Linked DNA regions of Homo sapiens: all the other regions are linked to region 2. Evidence: promoter capture Hi-C in human tissues and cell types (Jung and others, 2019). All regions are on one chromosome and are shown on one strand. Each heading gives the region's core, a stretch centred on a gene start or on the middle of the fragment in contact. The rest is flanking DNA. Distances are from core to core; before and after follow the strand shown.

Region 1 (5,077 bases), core at 1,040-3,539, 270 kb before region 2:
AGGGGCCCGTAGGCAGTTCTTTTTTTTTTTTTTTTTTTTTTTTGAGACAGAGTTTTGCTCTTGTTGCCCAGGTTGGAGAGCAGTGGTGCGATCTCGGCTCACCGCAACCTCCACCTCCCAGGTTCAAGTGATTCTCCTGCCTCAACCTCCCGAGTAGCTGGGATTACAGGCATGTGCCACCATGCCTGGCTAATTTTGTATTTTTAGTAGAGACGAGGTTTCTCCATGTTGGTCAGTGTGGTCTCGAACTCGTGACCTCAGGTGATCCACCCACCTCAGCCTCCCAAAGTGCTGGGATTACAGGCATGAGCCACCGCGCTCAGCCCCAATGGGCAGTTCTATCCTGCTCCCCCGCACTGCCCTGCCCTTACCTATTCCACGTCCCAGACCTCTGACTCTGCTCCAAAACCAGCCCCTTGGCCAGGCGCGGTGGCTCAGGCCTGCAATCCCAGCACTTTGGGAGGCTGAGGCAGGCGGATCACCTGAGGTCGGGAGTTCGAGACCAGCCTGGCCAACAAACTGGGGTTTTAGTGAAACCCCGTCTGTACTAAAAATACAAAAATTAACCAAGCGTGGCAGCGTGTGCCTGTAATCCAGTTATTCAGGAGGCTGAGGCAGGAGAATCACTTGAACCCGGGAGGCAGAGGTTGCAGTGAGCCAAGATGGCACCACTGCACCCCAGCCTGGGCAAACAAGAGCAAAACTCTGTCTCAAAAAACAAAAAAGCCCCCTAAAACACCACCAGCCACCCCACCCAGTCGGTGTCCCATTGTCTGTAGGGCCTGAAATCCCAGTTCCCCAGGGCTCACCTGGGGCCCGTGCTCGCCTCCTCTTCCTCTTCCTGCAGGGCCAGAGACCCCAGCAGCTTCCTCTTTGGCCCCTGGCCCTGGCTCTCTCTGGCTCCTATAGCCAGGCCCCCAGACTTCACCTCGGCCTGGGAGAGGAAAGTGGGGGCCCGGGAGGGGCCCAGAGGCCTGAGAGGCTCCCCGCCTGGGTGGGCCGCAGCCCCTCACTGGCTGTGCCACCTTCACTTGCACGGGGAAGGCTGGGCCAGCCGGGGTGCTGGCGGTAGTGTAAGAGGCTGGAGTGGGGCCCCCATAGGGAGACGCTGGGAGCGGCGAGGCTGGATTTGGCTTCAGGGAGCCCGTGCGGTAGGCAGGAGGTGGCGGGGGCTCATATGCCTGAGGAGAAACGCAGGCCAGAAGTCGTAAGCAAGGACCCCACTCCAAGACCCACATTTGTGGAAATGACCCTGGCTGTGGGGAAGCACAGGCTTTTTGCATTTGACAAGGTCCCGTCCTCAAGTGGCTGACATGTTGGTACTTGCAGCCACGCTTCCTCCATGCTGGGGTGCACATTACACACATGGGGGATCGATCAGGCTGGGTCTGAGAGTCCAGAGAAGGGGGCAGGGTGCTGACGGGGAGGAGGGGCAGAGTCACCTGTCGGTCTGGTCGCCGTGACGCATGACCCCGACCCCCATTCAGCTCGGCCAGCGTGCTGCTCAGCAAGTCTATCTCGGCGTCCAGGCTTCCAGGGCGAAGGCCCCCCCTGTCTGCAGGGAGCCCCTGAGGATGGAGCCAGGGCAGGAAGAATGCAAATCACCATAGGCCTTCTCCTGTCCTGGGTCCCTCAGACTCGGTTCTGGGGGATCCCACATGTCCCACCCCACGATCCCGGGTCTCACCTGCGTGTGCTGGAGTACTCCATGGGACCCCACCCACGCCGGCCCCCGATCCTCCGGTCCCCCTGGGGCCTGGTAACACTGCTCAGATGGAAGGGGGCAAAAATTGACCCTGGGGTGGGGCTGGAGTGCTGGGTTGAGGGAAGAGAAATCAAAGGTGGGGTGGCGGAGGACAGGAGGGGTGTATATTTGAGGAGCCACCCTCTCCGCCTCTCGTTACCTCCTCCCCCAAATCTAGGGTCCCAAGAGAGCGCAGGCGGCTGTTCCCCCCGCCTCGGCTTGGGGAAGGGGCAGGAGGAAGCAGCCAGGGCGGGAGGCTGGAGCGGTAGGACAGAGGTGAGCGCCACAGCTGGGTGGCTCTTCTGTCTCACAAGGGCTGCCTTACCTGCTCCGTGGGCCGGTGGTGGCCCCGGGGTGCCGCGGGGGATCGCCCTCCCCTGAGGGGCTCTGGCGGGCTCCGGCTGCTTCGGGGGCAGCCAGGTGGGCCCCGACATGGCCTGGAAAGGGGGACTCCAGACAGCGGTCTTGAAGCCCCGAGCCTCTGGCCTTCACCCCCTCTTCCGTCCCGCACCTCGTTTGGGACTCCAGAAAAGAAAACTTTTTCTGGCTTTTTTTTTTCCTCTTCCTCCCTAATTTTGGGGACGACCACGCCTCCGATGACGTCACCACATTCCTGGGGGAGGGTCACGTGGCCCCCTAGGCCCTAAACTGCCATTTCTCCCTGAGTCAGCCCCCTCCTGCCGAGAGGGGAGGGCTCTCCGGGGGATCCCGAGTCACTGGGGGTTGCGGGCAGCTGGGGATGGGAGGTGCGGGCCCGAGCCAGCCTCCAAGTCCACGGATGCGTCCGGGCCCCGCACCCCAGCCCTGCACGTGGCAGCCTCGCGGCGGGAGGCTGAAGGCTCCGATCTCCACCCCTCTGCAGAGCTCTCCATTCCCACCCCCTCCCTCTCAGCTACCCACCAGCACTGCTCAGCCAGCCTGTAGTGTTTTGGTCTTTTATTCATGGTCAGCAGAGTTAGAAAAATAAAACAGAACGAAAACATCACCACCCCAGTGGGCCGGTGAGTCTGGCCAAAATGGGGAAACTGAGGTAGCCCAGAGTCACAGAGGAGGCCTGGCCCCTAGCATCAAGGCACCAGTGAAGGGAGGCTGCGGACTCCCTCCCCTGCACGGTGGGGACAGCCACCCAGAGTTAGTGTGCTGGGGTCCCTCTGCCAAAGGAGGTGGGCGTGATGCCCAAGCCCAGGATCCCCTTCAAACCTCCCCTGGGCTCCACGTCCCAAGGGCAGGGCCACGGGCCACAGTGGCCTCCTCTTCCTCCTCCTCCAAGGATCAGGATAGGCCGCCTGCCTGGGCCCTCTCTACCTAGCCCTGGAGGCAGGGGCATCACAGATCAGTGCAGGTGACTGGAGTGACCCCATGAACCAGCAGCGTGGGGCCCAGGTCTCGGGTTAGAGTCTCCAGTAGCGCCAGGTAGCGGGGGTATCGGGCGGGATCGGCTGGCGGCCGAGGCAAGTACAGGAAGGTGAGGGCTGTGATGGGGCCCTCAGCATCCCCACCCTCCGGCCCACCCGGCCCTCCTCCTGTGCCGCGCCCCTGCTGGGCCCGAACCAGGGCGTTGGCGCTGCGTGCCAGGGCCTCTGCCTCTGCGTCTCCCCGCCCACTGTTCACAAAGTCCCCTTCCTCCTCCGCCTCGGGTTCCCCAGCCCCGGCCCCCTCGCCCCACACCACCTCCTGCACCTCAGCCCGGATCCTCAGTTGGCTCAGCAGTGCCCGCAGCCGCCCCTCGGCCGCCCCAGGCGCCTCCCGAGGCCCCAGGCACAGGAAGATCCGGAGCCGGGCGCTATGCCAAGCGGGCACCATGCCCAAGATGGTTGCCATCTGCAGCAGGAAGAGGCCGCAGACATCCACATAGCCGGGCCCACCCCGGGGCCGCAGCAGGTTGAGGGGCCACACGTCCACATGGTGCAGCTGAGAGGTGCCCCCAGACCCCCGGCTCAGCCGCTCAGGGGGCAAGGCCCCGCTGGCCCGGGCCAGCACCACATTCTTGTTCATCTTGAGGGCGTCGGCCACCGTGGCCACATAGTCCTGGGGATTGAGGGCCCGGGGGCTCCCAGGAGCCCGGGGAGGAGGGAACAGGGTGCTCAGAGCTGGGGAACTGCCCTCCCTGGTGCTGTCTGCAGGCTCAGAGAAAGCCGGGTCCGTCAGGAAATGGTCCTGCGGTGGAGCGTCATCGTAGAAACCTAGGACCAACGTGTTGGGCTTCATGCCACCTGGGGGCAGAGCGGGGAAGGCAGGAACAGACAGGAGTCAGGCTCACAGGCTAAGTTTACACCACGCTCCCACACACTGACAGCAAGGTGCGTCAGCCATAGGTATGACATTCCCACTGTGTACGGGCTCTTACGGCAACATTCTGCATATTTGCATAAAGACTTTTCATTTTTCCTAAACACTTTCACATGCATTTATTTTATTATCTCAGTGACTAATCTCCTCCACTTAAACAGGCAAAGTTCGCCTTAGGATTCTTGCCACTAATGAGCACTCCAATTCTATGGAGAGGAGGATGCTGTCCACTCCCGGCTTCTAGCGGGGCATCTGTTTCACGGCAGGGGATGCGAGTTTGACTCTGTTGTGCAAACCAGACACCCTGATCAGCCAAGCTCATGACCTGAATCCCCAGGGTAATAGCGTCCCAGACTCTGCAATGGGAAGATGAAAAAATGGACCAGGCAGGGCACCGTGGCTCACACCTGTAATCGCAGCATCTTGGGAAGCTGAGGCACGTTGATCACCTGAGATCAGGAGTTTGAGACCAGCCTGGCCAATACGGTGAAATGCTATCTCTACTAAAAATACAAAAATTAGCCGGGCATTGTGGTGGGCATCTATAATCCCAGCTACTCAGGAGGCTGAGACATGAGAATTGCCTGAACCCGGAAGGTGGTGGTTGTAGTAAGCCGAGATCACGCCACTGCACTCCAGCCTGGGCAACAGAGCGAGACTCCATCTCAAAAAAAAAGAAAAAAAGAAACAGGGCTACCCCGTATGTTTACTGCAGTAAACCCTAACCCTAGTAGGTTTTACCAAAACCCTAATCATGGTGGTTCATTGCATGGTATCCGCTTACCAGGGGCTATGTCCTGTAGAAAGCACTTTATATTTTAACTTATTTGAAACTCGAAGTAATGCTATGAGGTAGGTAATATTTAGTCTCCTCTTTTTACTGATAAGGAGCCCAAAGCACCAAGGGATGAAGTCACTTGCCCATAGGCTCATATCTGGTAGGTACTGGGGCAGGTAGGTCAACGCAATCCGCCTCCATCCAGCGTGAGAGGCCACACTCTGAGCCACCGAGCTGGGCACGTGGCAACCACAATGCTCCAAGTC
Region 2 (5,009 bases), core at 827-3,326:
TGGGGGGGGCCCTGGAAGAGGGATGGGTGGGTGCGGGAGGAGGGGAGAGAAGACGGGGAGGAGGGACTGAAGGGGCGGTTAGTGAGGAAAATGGGTCAGGGAGGTAGGGGGCCCTAGGCACTGGGGCGCGGGGTGGGCGGGGCGGAGGTTAGGGCTGGGGGCGGGGCTGCGGCCGGGGCGGGGCCTGGAGGGGGGGAAGGCGGAGGTGAGGGAGTTCTCACCAGTGCCCGAGGTGGCCCGCCCGCTGTACCAGAGCAGGAAGCCTCGTCCTCCTGTGCCCTCATCCGTCGTCATCCTCAGGGTCACCTGGTTGCCGGGGGCGACTAGGGGCGCAGGCCGGAAGGTCCCACAAAAGCGTCCGAGCCGCTGGCCGGAAGTCCCAGACCCAGCGAAGACCTCCAGAGCATCGTAGCGGCAGGCGGGGTGCAGCTCCAGGTCGAAGACTCGGAATGAGAGGGACACAGTCTGGCCCTCGGGGACCTGATAGCGGGGACAGAGGCGGGGACCCACAGAGTCAGGCCCCACACAACCCAGCCAGAGGGCAGCTCCCCTGCCCCAAGCGTTTCTTGCAGAAACGGACTGAATGGGAAGGGGCCTCCATGTGAGTGCAGAGCAGAGGGCCTGGTCTCTGCAGCTCTGCTGGTAGCCTGTGCAGGGGACAAGAGCTGAGGCTTTGGAAGAGGAGGGAGGGCCGGGGACTGGAGAATGAAGATTTGAGGGAAGGGTTAAGATGATGCGTGTTACGGTGGGAATGATGCCTTCAGTGACAGAGGGAAGACACTTGGAGCTGCCCCAGGTTGAGAAGGTGGTGCGGGGGGGACGGGGGGGGGGTCCCTTCGCAGTCAGGCCTTTTTGCCTCTGAGACTTTAACAAGGGGTAGTGCCCAGAGGGGTTTCTCACCGTTATGGTCCAGATGCACTCCTTATTAGGGGGGTAGAGGTTGGGGAACCCCTCACTTGCCACGTAACCTGATTCCCCCTTCACATCCCCTCCGCACAGGAACACGGGTCTGGAGAACAGAAAAGGGGTCAGGAAAGAGCAGGGACGGGTGGGACGGGGGAGCACTGGCAAGATGGGGATGAGGTGATGAGGATGAAACTCCAAGGAGGGAAGCTGGGGGATGAAATGGAAAGGCCTTGAGAGACCTGGGGCAGCTTCCACCAGCCAGGACAGGGCTGGGGTGTCCCAGACTCCCACAAAGATAAGGGAAAAGTGGGCCTGGCAACTCGACCATCCCTCCAACCCCAAGAGTCCCCACCCCCACCCCAACAGGAATTCCCGGAATCCTCCTCGGCCCCCCTTCCAGACTCCCGCCTCACTCTGCCTGGCAGTCCAGGGACAGGAGCCGCCTAACTACTTCCAGATGTGGACACAGCCACGAGGCGGTGGGGGGGAGGGGGTGGAGAGATGGAGGGAGCTGCAGTGGCGATGGCCCTCTGATTGAACCTGGAGGCCAGGCTCCGCGAGCTCCACACCTTAGCCCTGCCCCTGTTCCAAACTACTTCAGATTCTGACTCCCAAGTCTCCACTCACTGCCCCCTCCTCCCCCTACAATCCCTCTCGAATTCCTTCCTGGAATCCAGCTACCAGGCAAGTTCAGGAGCTTGGCTCTCTCTTGGGTTCTATGGGGGGTCAAGGATCTGGGTGGGTGGGGAGACTTAAGAGACCAGAGGACGAAGGTGGGGGAATGGGAGCAGTGGTGGCCTGCAGGAGACCAAGGTCTTGCAGCAGATGGGGAGGATTTGGGGGCCAGAGAAGGGTGAGGCGGTGGGGAATCTGGGGAGTGGTGTGTCAGCAAGGGAACCCAAAATATCTCCAGGCATAACCCCAAAGGAATCGGGGGTCTGAAGTTCACTGGAGCTGTCTGGAAGATGCCAAGAGACCTACCTGGTGTAGTTGGGGGTCTGGCCCTGGGCAAAAGGCAGCAGGGCGCAGGCAGTGAGGAGGGGCCCCAGGAGGGAGGCTGTGGCTGCAGGCAGCATGGCCCCGGGGGAAAGGCGCTGGGGTCCTCAAGACAGAGGCAGCAGCTGAATTTTGCAGAGCAGCAGCAGCGGTGGCGGCAGCAGCAGGATAATCAGCGCCAGATGGGGCAGCCTTGGGTGTGTGGGCGTGGGGACTGGCCAGTGGGGCGGGCAATGGGGAAGGCGGGACAGTGGCGTGTCCTGGGACCTCTCTAGGTCTAGGACACATAAATGTTGACCTTAGGAGGGGGAGGAGCAGTGAGGGGCAGAGGCCGTCTCCCAGGCCTCAAGTAACGTCATCGGGAACCCCACTCTGTCCAGTGAGGGAGTATCTCCGGGAACTTCTGAGGACTCCCTAGCCCCCATCCTCCCCCCGCCCCTGCTTCCTCAGCTCAGGAGCCCTCATTGCTCACCCCCTGCCTGACCACCCCTGCCAGCTCATTTTCCACTTCAATTTCTTTTTTTTTTTTTTTTTTTTTTTGAGACAGAGTCTCATTCTGTGACCCAGGCTGGAGTGCAGTGGCGCGATCTCTGCTCACTGCAACCTCCGCCTCCCGGGTTCAAGCAATTCTTGTGCCTTAGCCTCCCGAGTAGCTGGGACTGCAGGTGCATGCCTCCACACCTGGCTAATTTTTGTATTTTTAGTAGAGGCAGGGTTTCAGCATGCTGTCCAGGCTGGTCTCAAATTCCTAGCCTCAGGTGATCCGCCCACCTCGGACTCCCAAAGTGCTGGGATTATAGGCGTAGCCACCACACCTGGCCTCCACTTCACATCTCCATTGCCTTCTCTCCAGACCTGGGCCAGACTAGGCCAAGGAGAAGGAATTCTCACCCATGACCTCTTCCAACTACTTGAAGGTACAGGAAGCAAGGCAGGAGGCATGGGGTGTGGATGAAGGGAGTGTCCTTGTTACTCAGGAAGAGGTGGAAGGAGTAGAAAATAGAGCCCAAACCTGGGAGGTAAACAGAAGGGAGAGAGGAGGGGGGCTGGCTTCAGGCCGAAGGGAGATGGGTGGGAAGCTTTCGGGGGTCAGGAGGAACAGGCTGCCTCAGGATGGGGACAAGTCTAGTGGGCAGGGGATCCCAGTGGGGTAGCCAAGAGCATCTGTGCATAGAGTTGTTCCAGAAGGTAGGGCCAGAACTTCCCAGTCCAAACGACCAGGTGTGCTCTTGGGAGCAGGGAGTGGACAACAATGTGAAGGGTTCAGGCAGCATCAGCTCTGCTGCACCTGAGACCTGGAGCTGCTTGTGCTGCCTGCCCCTGCCTGGGCTCCTGCCCTCCTGCACCCACCAAGCCGGGCACCCACCCACCCCATCCCTGCCCCTGTCCCTCCCAGCCCCCAAGGCTTCCACACCAGGCCTCGCTGCAGCCTTTTATTCTATCCATCAAATCTCTTGTCCATGATAGTCAGGTTGGGGGCCCCTCCTGGGCAGCCCCCTGAACATTCTTACCCTGGTTAGCCGTCCCCACCCCCTAGCAACCCCTTCCCACACGCATGTGCACAATGGTCATTGCTCCTTAGTCCCTGGCCTGGGGCCGGACTCCCTCCTCCAGGGACTAGGCTAGCATGAGGGGGATTAGGTCTCAGGGGCTGGGGGCCCTACACCACCCCCGCCTCCTTCAGCCCTCTGCAGCATGTCCAGGGCCTCCCAGAAGAAGTCCTTCTGTGCGGCCATCAGGGGCATCCACCCTACGATCTCCTTCATCTTCTCCGTGCGGTCCTGCAACGTTTGGCAACTGTGGATCTGGCTGAGGTACTCCTCGCAGGCCTGGGCCATCCCCCCGGGGTCCTGGGGTGCTCTGGCCCCCAGGCTGGGCTCAGGAGTCCCCACCACCCTGCTGGCTGGCAGGTGGCGATAGGGGGCGTGCTGCTCAATGTCGTGGCTGGACAGGATGTATAGGCACTCCCTGGTGGCACAGAGGGCACAGGCACACAGAGGGACCTTGGAGGAGGAGAGAAAGGGGGCATGGCTGAGTGGTGCTTTCCTTGCAGGGTTTCCCAGGGTGCCCGGGCTAATCTGCCTATTGCATTCTTCCCTCTCACACCAGCCCTGAGCCGGCTAAGTCCCAGGGGTGTGTGAGGTTGGGCAAGGCCAGCACAGTCTGCTAAGGGAGAAAGCAGAGAGCGTGGTGTGCGGCAGAGGAGGGAGGTGGGGTGGTGCTAGGGAAATGGGACCCCCTGGGTCCCTGCAGGAGCCCCAGCTACAGCCTGTGGGCTTCCTGGTTCATGGCTCTCATCCTCCCTGGGTGCCCACTCTCCTGACCCCGCTCTGACCTTGACTTGGAGCTTGACGAAGGAGGCACTCCCCTTGGGCCAGCCTGGGAGGCGGCCCCCAGCCCCACAGCCGCAGCCCAGCAGCTCCTTGCTGAACTCTGAGCTCTGGCTCAGCACCAGGGAGTGGTTGAGGCCGCACCACAGGGTGATGGGCCGCTGCAGGTAACAAACCTGGGGACACACGGCCAGGGTCCCTGAGCAGGGAGCACCAAGGGACGGGGGGGCTGGGGTGGGAAAAGGTTGACTGGAAGGCTCGGGGCAGAATGAACTGGGGAGGAGGAAATGGGAGCCAGCACTGTCCCACGCCCCAGGTCTGCCCTGCTGACCCCTGCAGCCCCCATACTCTAACTGGTCACATAGGGTCTTGCACTTCTGTTGGTATCTCATCTATGCCCCCAGAAAATCAGCTCCTTGCCTGAGCCCAGGGCCTGCTGTGGTGTACCCCTCATTCTCAGCCCACCCGTCTATGCCAGTCCAGCCTCTCATCCTGCCTGCCAGCCTCGGGGAGACTTGCTTCTTGTGCAATTCCAGGTTAGACCCCAACACCACCCTGAGGAAGGACTTTCCCTTCCACTATCCCTCCCTTCCTGCTCTAGTATTATCTTTTCTTTCTTTCTTTCTTTTTTTTTTTTTTGTTTGAGACAGAGTCGGAAGGCTGGAGTGCAGCAGTGCGATCTCGGCTCACTGCAACCTCTGCCTTCCTGGGTTCAAGTGATTCTCCCACCTCAGCCTCCCAAGTAGCTAGGACTACAGGTCCTTGCCACCACACCCA
Region 3 (4,763 bases), core at 940-3,439, 280 kb before region 2:
CGGACATAAATGGCACCTTTTGCCCCCTTGAGATTTGTCTTTATTTTAGCTTTTGTTCCACCCCAGCCACAAATGATCACTAGCATCCCCCCAGTTCTGCTGGAATCTGGAGGTGCTGCTACCCACACACGAAGGGGCAAATGAGTGAGCAGGCGAGTGGGTGCAAGGGTTCAAGGCTACAGATAGGTAAGGTCAGAGGTGCCCACAGCAGAGGCACTACCAGTTGCTTCTGACAAAGTCCTTTGGGGAGTCACTGACCGTGGGCAGGGGAGGCGTCCCTGGTTCTGAGGCCCAAAGCTGTGTCCTGTCATCCAGCGTGTGGATCAGCTTGGCCGCCAGCTTGATGTCGTTGCGCACAATCTGCTTGTGCTGGGTGATGCCGTTGATGTTGCGAACGCGCCGGGTCAGGTCCCTGTTCACACCAGGGCTCAGCTCACACTCCCGGAGCTGGAGGGCAGACATCATCAGCAGCTTACCCCACTTACCCCGCTTGCCAGAGAAACAGCAGCTCTAAGACCCTTCCCTCTTGAGCACCAGCGATTGATCAGACTGCGAGCTCCCTGGGGACGGGGACCACATAGGTTCCGTCCATGCTAACGCCCTAGAGCCTTGCCCAGAGACAACGTAGCCAGACAAAACGGTCAAAGAGTGTGCAGAACAACCAAACTATCAGATGAACAAAGTCACACAGAGGTCCCGTGTGGCACAGAGTCTCCCTTCCTCTTCCCCACAGTCCCACCCCCAGCACTCACACGGATGTTCTGCAGGTTCCAACAGATCTCTTTAATGTTAACACTGCGGTCGAAGGTCACCCAGCCACGACGGAAAAACCTACACAAGAAAGAAAATGTTAGCATAGTCAAGCGAGGGAGTTGGTGTTGGCCATTAACGTTCCCCTGCACTTTTCCCTCCAACGCACCGAGTTACTCACCTCCTCTCTGGCTGGGGCTCTGAGAGCGCCACCCGCATAAAGCCTGGGTACCTTTTACAAAGCTGCAAGAAGCAGAAAAGCAGCCCCACAGTGACTCAAGGATTCATTCGCTTCTTCCTCCAATCCCCCACTGCCCTCAGAACCCTAGGGACTAACTGCCTTATCACTCTTCCCATCCTTGGGCAGGGAAAAACCACTAAAGGGCTTCAGAACACCAGCACCTGAAAGCCAATGGCGCTATCAGGACTAGTCCTCGGAGGCCATGGAACCTGGGGAAGGGGCCTCCCTAGCAGGTGAAACGGGGGCATCTGTCACAGGCAGGGCCCCACTGCCTTCCCTCTACCCTCCACTTCTCCATCAGCCCTGCCCTGACTCCACGGGTCCCCACTCACGGAGATGATCTCGGCCCGGGAGATGTTGGGCGCGATGTTGCGCATGAAGAGGGAGCAGGTCTTATGCAGCGGCCGCGGCTTGCACTCCAGCCCCGCGGCGTCCTTGGGCTTCTCCCATTCTTCTTCCTTGGGCTTCTCCTTCTCCTTGAGCGCTTCTTCTAGGCAGGAAGGGGGGTAGGAAGGAGTTGGTGCATTTTTATTACTGATTGTGGTGGGGAGGATACAGAAGCTTTCCCCTAAAAGCCACCCACCCTCCCGTCAATGTCGCCAACCTCTCACCTCCCCACCCGCATTAGGAGAACGCACTTTAAAGCAGAAAAGAAACCCTACCGGCCTCCTCCTTCTCCTCCTCAGCCTGGCCGCTCTCTGACTCCGACTCAGACTCTGACACGCTGCCCTCGTCAAAGCTGTCGTCACCACTGTGCTTCCGGTTCCGCTTCTTGCTACTCTGTGTGAGCCACAGCAGAGGGGACAAGTCAGCGTGCCAGAACCCCAGCCCCAACACTCTGACCCCAGGCCACAGACACCTCACCTTTTTGGCTTCCTTCTCGGAGTCTTCTTTCTTCTCTTCCTTGTCCCCATCACCCTCCGACTTCTTTGTTTTGTCATCATTAGAACTGTCATTCTCAGCCTATGGTAAGAGACAACCACTGGGGATGTCAAACCTCCCCTCCCACCTTTATCAGAGGGCCCCCACCCCCACAGCTGAGGCCACAGGTTCATTTTCCCCAGCCCCCTACTTCTAGCTCCTATGGACCCCTACCCGCCCCCCTCCCCCAGGCTGCCAGGGACAACACTAGGAGACCCAGGGCTCGGACCTGCTTGCCGTCTTCCTTCTTCTCATCCTTGTCGTTGGTTTTGCGCTCCCCGTCCCCTAGGCCTGCTCCAGCCCGTCCTTCTTCTTTCTTGCTGGGCTCCCCAGGCTTTCCTGCCTGCTCCTCCTCCTCCTCCTGCTCCAGGATGCGAAGATCATTCTCCGTGCCTCCTTCCATCTTAATCACGGCTACCAACAAAGGGAACAGAGGTCATGACCCCAGGGCCCTGGCTCCTGTCAACCGGCTTCTACCTGATCCCCAGACACCCCCACCCCCATGGGGCCCAGATGCCTGCCACCCCTCCAAATCCGCACACCTGCATCCAGCATCTTGACAATGGCATCAGCTTTGTCTATGTCCAGGAGAAGGTTATCAAACCAGCCAGTCTCCATGAGGGACAGGAAGACCCTCAGTCGGTTTTGCAGGGCCCCCCGGGCCTCCTGCCGACGCTTCCCCACCTCATCTGGGTGGTACTTAGACCGAAACCTGGGAACGAAGCGGGGGAGGGAAAGACAAAACAGTTATTGGAAGCCAAGGCCAGGATGTGGGAAGGGGCCCAGGAAAGACAGGGCATATCCCCCTTCCTCTCACAACCACAAAAGGTCATCAAAATAGAGAGATTAAGGGATAGGGGTGCGCTAGAACCACCCAACACCCCAAAAGGAACCAGAAGTTGTGTTCTGTGAAGATTTGGGGGAGAACCAGGAACTAAGAGCTCTGGATTTGGGAAGACCAATGACTACAGGGGGACGCCAGGGTAGGAGAGGCAGATTTACCACTTTAAATCTCTGGGAAACACTAACGTAGTAAAAAGGTGTCATTTCCCAAAGCTTCAGAGAGGAAGGCTCAGGAAATAGCAGGCCCTGAAGAACCTCCCTCTCCTCACCAACCCCAAACTGCAGTCATTCAAAAACTGCTCCCGCCAACTCCCTCCACCCCGAGGTGGAAGACAGAGGGCCAGATAGCAAAAGCCCAGAGGCAGGGCACCTTTCTCCACCCGTGGGAAGATAAGCAAGACGGTGAAGGGACAGGAAAGACCGAAGGGAGACACTGGAGTGCCCTTTAGAGCCTCAGGTCCTGCCCACAGGGGGAGAGAGAGGAGAGGGCTGGAAGGTTAGGGAGAAGAAAAATAAAACATTTCAAATAGGACCTCAGAGGGAAAACAGAAGAAATGAGGAGTATGAGGAAAAGGGGAAAGGGAGGAAAGGGGAGAGTGTGAGAAAGTCCCAGAAACCGAAAACAAAGGGAAAAACTAAAGATCAGAGAGAGAAACTAAAAAAACCAACAGGGAAGAAGGTGGTGTTAGGCAGGGAGCAAGAACAGAAACAGAGAAGAATGAAGGTGCTGAGAGATTAGGACAAAGACACAGAGCAATTCGAGAGAGGGGACAGCGAAGACAGAACAGAACCACGAGTGGGGCAGAAGAGGAAAGGAAAGCCGCAGGCATCACCTCCAGGATCTTTACCTTGGCCGCTTGGTCAAACAGAGCTCAAGATTTAACTAGCGGCGCCCAGGGCCCATGCTGGCTGGTGGGCCACCGGCTGGCTCCTGGCTGGGCGCCCGGCCGAGATGCCCACGCGGGACTCCGCAGTGGGGCCTGACTGGCTAGCTGCCTGAGCAATCACATTCAGCTAAACCGCTGCATTGTGCACAGCAGTGCCCTGGCCTGTCTGCCTGGCCGGGGCCGCGCAGCTCAGCCCAGGGGCTCATGTATGGGCTGGGTATGGTGGGGGTGGAGGTGGGTTTGCTCCGAGCTCCGTCGATGAGCGGGTGTAGTTCCCAGTTCTGGCTCTTTTCAAGGAGGAGGAGCAGAAAGAGGATGAGGAGGAGGAGGAGCAGGAAGGGGGGAAAAGATGGTTGATTAAAATTAAAACATCCACAAAAGGAAAAAAAAATTAAAATTCTTTTTCTGTCAAACGACCGAGATCTTTGCTTTTCTTGTCTGGATTCACTCGTCGCTTTAGGAGGACGCCACAGCCACACAGGGTCCTGGTGATCAGGGATGACAATGACCCAACACCAACAAGTGGGAAGCAGTCTGTCTGCTGCCCCAAGGGGCCAAGTGGCTCTGGCCTGCTGCCTGGAGGTGTCCCACTCTCTGAGGACAGCAGGACAGGAGACAGGGCGGGGCGGGGGCCGTGGCAGTTGCTGAAGTGAGGGGGAGACCCCATCAGCCAATGCTGTCATACTTCCCGACCCCCGCCCCCAGAAAGTTCTGGACAGGGAAAACTGGGAAGAGGACAGGGCTGTGGCTCCACCAGCGGGGCCAGGGGGACATGCCAGGGCAGAGGTCCAGGGAAGTAGGGGCACTCACCACTCCTCATCTTTGTGCGCCAGGAAGAAATCCTGCATCTGTTGCCTCCGGAAATCCAGCTTGTAGTCATTATAGCGCTTGACGGCCTCCGTCTCATCCACCGAGTCATCCAGGGAGAGGAGAAACTCCTTGAAGGTCTTCATCACGGGCGGCGGCACACCCAGGTCAATCTCTGCAATGCTGCCCAGCCTGGAGGGGACCCCGGTCAGGAAGGCTTGGTTTTTGGGGAACGGTGGGAGGCTACAGGGGCCAAAGTAGCTGGGGCCCCTTTACTTTGTCCACCATGGACATCACCCCAAACCCCAACAGCT

What was found. Contacts are between HindIII fragments. The study calls those that stand out against the background at their distance.
Region 1: the fragment with the promoter of TRIP6 here is called in contact with the fragment with the promoter of PCOLCE in region 2 in 1 of the 25 tissues and cell types used here (IMR-90 fibroblasts).
Region 3: a contact is called between a fragment that was not itself captured here and the fragment with the promoter of PCOLCE in region 2, in 2 of the 25 tissues and cell types used here (IMR-90 fibroblasts and spleen).

What each region holds. Positions count from the first base shown.
Region 1 is chr7:100,864,599-100,869,675 of GRCh38, reverse strand. TRIP6 (thyroid hormone receptor interactor 6) reads right to left here and starts at 2,289. Exons shown (of 9, transcript NM_003302.3): 1 at 2,070-2,289; 2 at 1,688-1,815; 3 at 1,443-1,568; 4 at 810-1,181. The coding sequence starts at 2,178. It overlaps SLC12A9 (solute carrier family 12 member 9), which reads right to left. Exons shown (of 14, transcript NM_020246.4): 14 at 2,666-3,957. The coding sequence ends at 3,071. MIR6875 (microRNA 6875) reads right to left here and starts at 1,640; the gene lies at 1,569-1,640. RefSeq lists an enhancer at 1,502-1,601 and silencers at 2,042-2,191, 2,552-2,641. The HindIII fragment of the contact is 16,493 bases long and covers 1-5,077 here.
Region 2 is chr7:100,599,430-100,604,438 of GRCh38, reverse strand. It overlaps PCOLCE (procollagen C-endopeptidase enhancer), which reads right to left and starts at 2,076. Exons shown (of 9, transcript NM_002593.4): 1 at 1,888-2,076; 2 at 901-1,009; 3 at 222-480. The coding sequence starts at 1,982. It overlaps FBXO24 (F-box protein 24), which reads right to left. Exons shown (of 10, transcript NM_033506.3): 9 at 4,238-4,408; 10 at 3,322-3,905. The coding sequence ends at 3,540. It overlaps PCOLCE-AS1 (PCOLCE antisense RNA 1), which reads left to right and starts at 401. Exons shown (of 9, transcript NR_038910.1): 1 at 401-601; 2 at 1,273-2,099; 3 at 2,756-2,819; 4 at 3,587-3,716; 5 at 4,250-4,399; 6 at 4,637-4,768. RefSeq lists a silencer at 1-167 and an enhancer at 175-967. The HindIII fragment of the contact is 8,861 bases long and covers 1-4,396 here.
Region 3 is chr7:100,881,931-100,886,693 of GRCh38, reverse strand. SRRT (serrate, RNA effector molecule) reads right to left here. Exons shown (of 20, transcript NM_015908.6): 5 at 4,453-4,641; 6 at 2,455-2,624; 7 at 2,142-2,326; 8 at 1,856-1,954; 9 at 1,654-1,771; 10 at 1,324-1,481; 11 at 932-993; 12 at 753-831; 13 at 259-447. Among named protein-coding and RNA genes, the nearest start is that of UFSP1, 5.4 kb to the left of the region's middle. RefSeq lists an enhancer at 157-890. The HindIII fragment of the contact is 4,538 bases long and covers 1-4,458 here.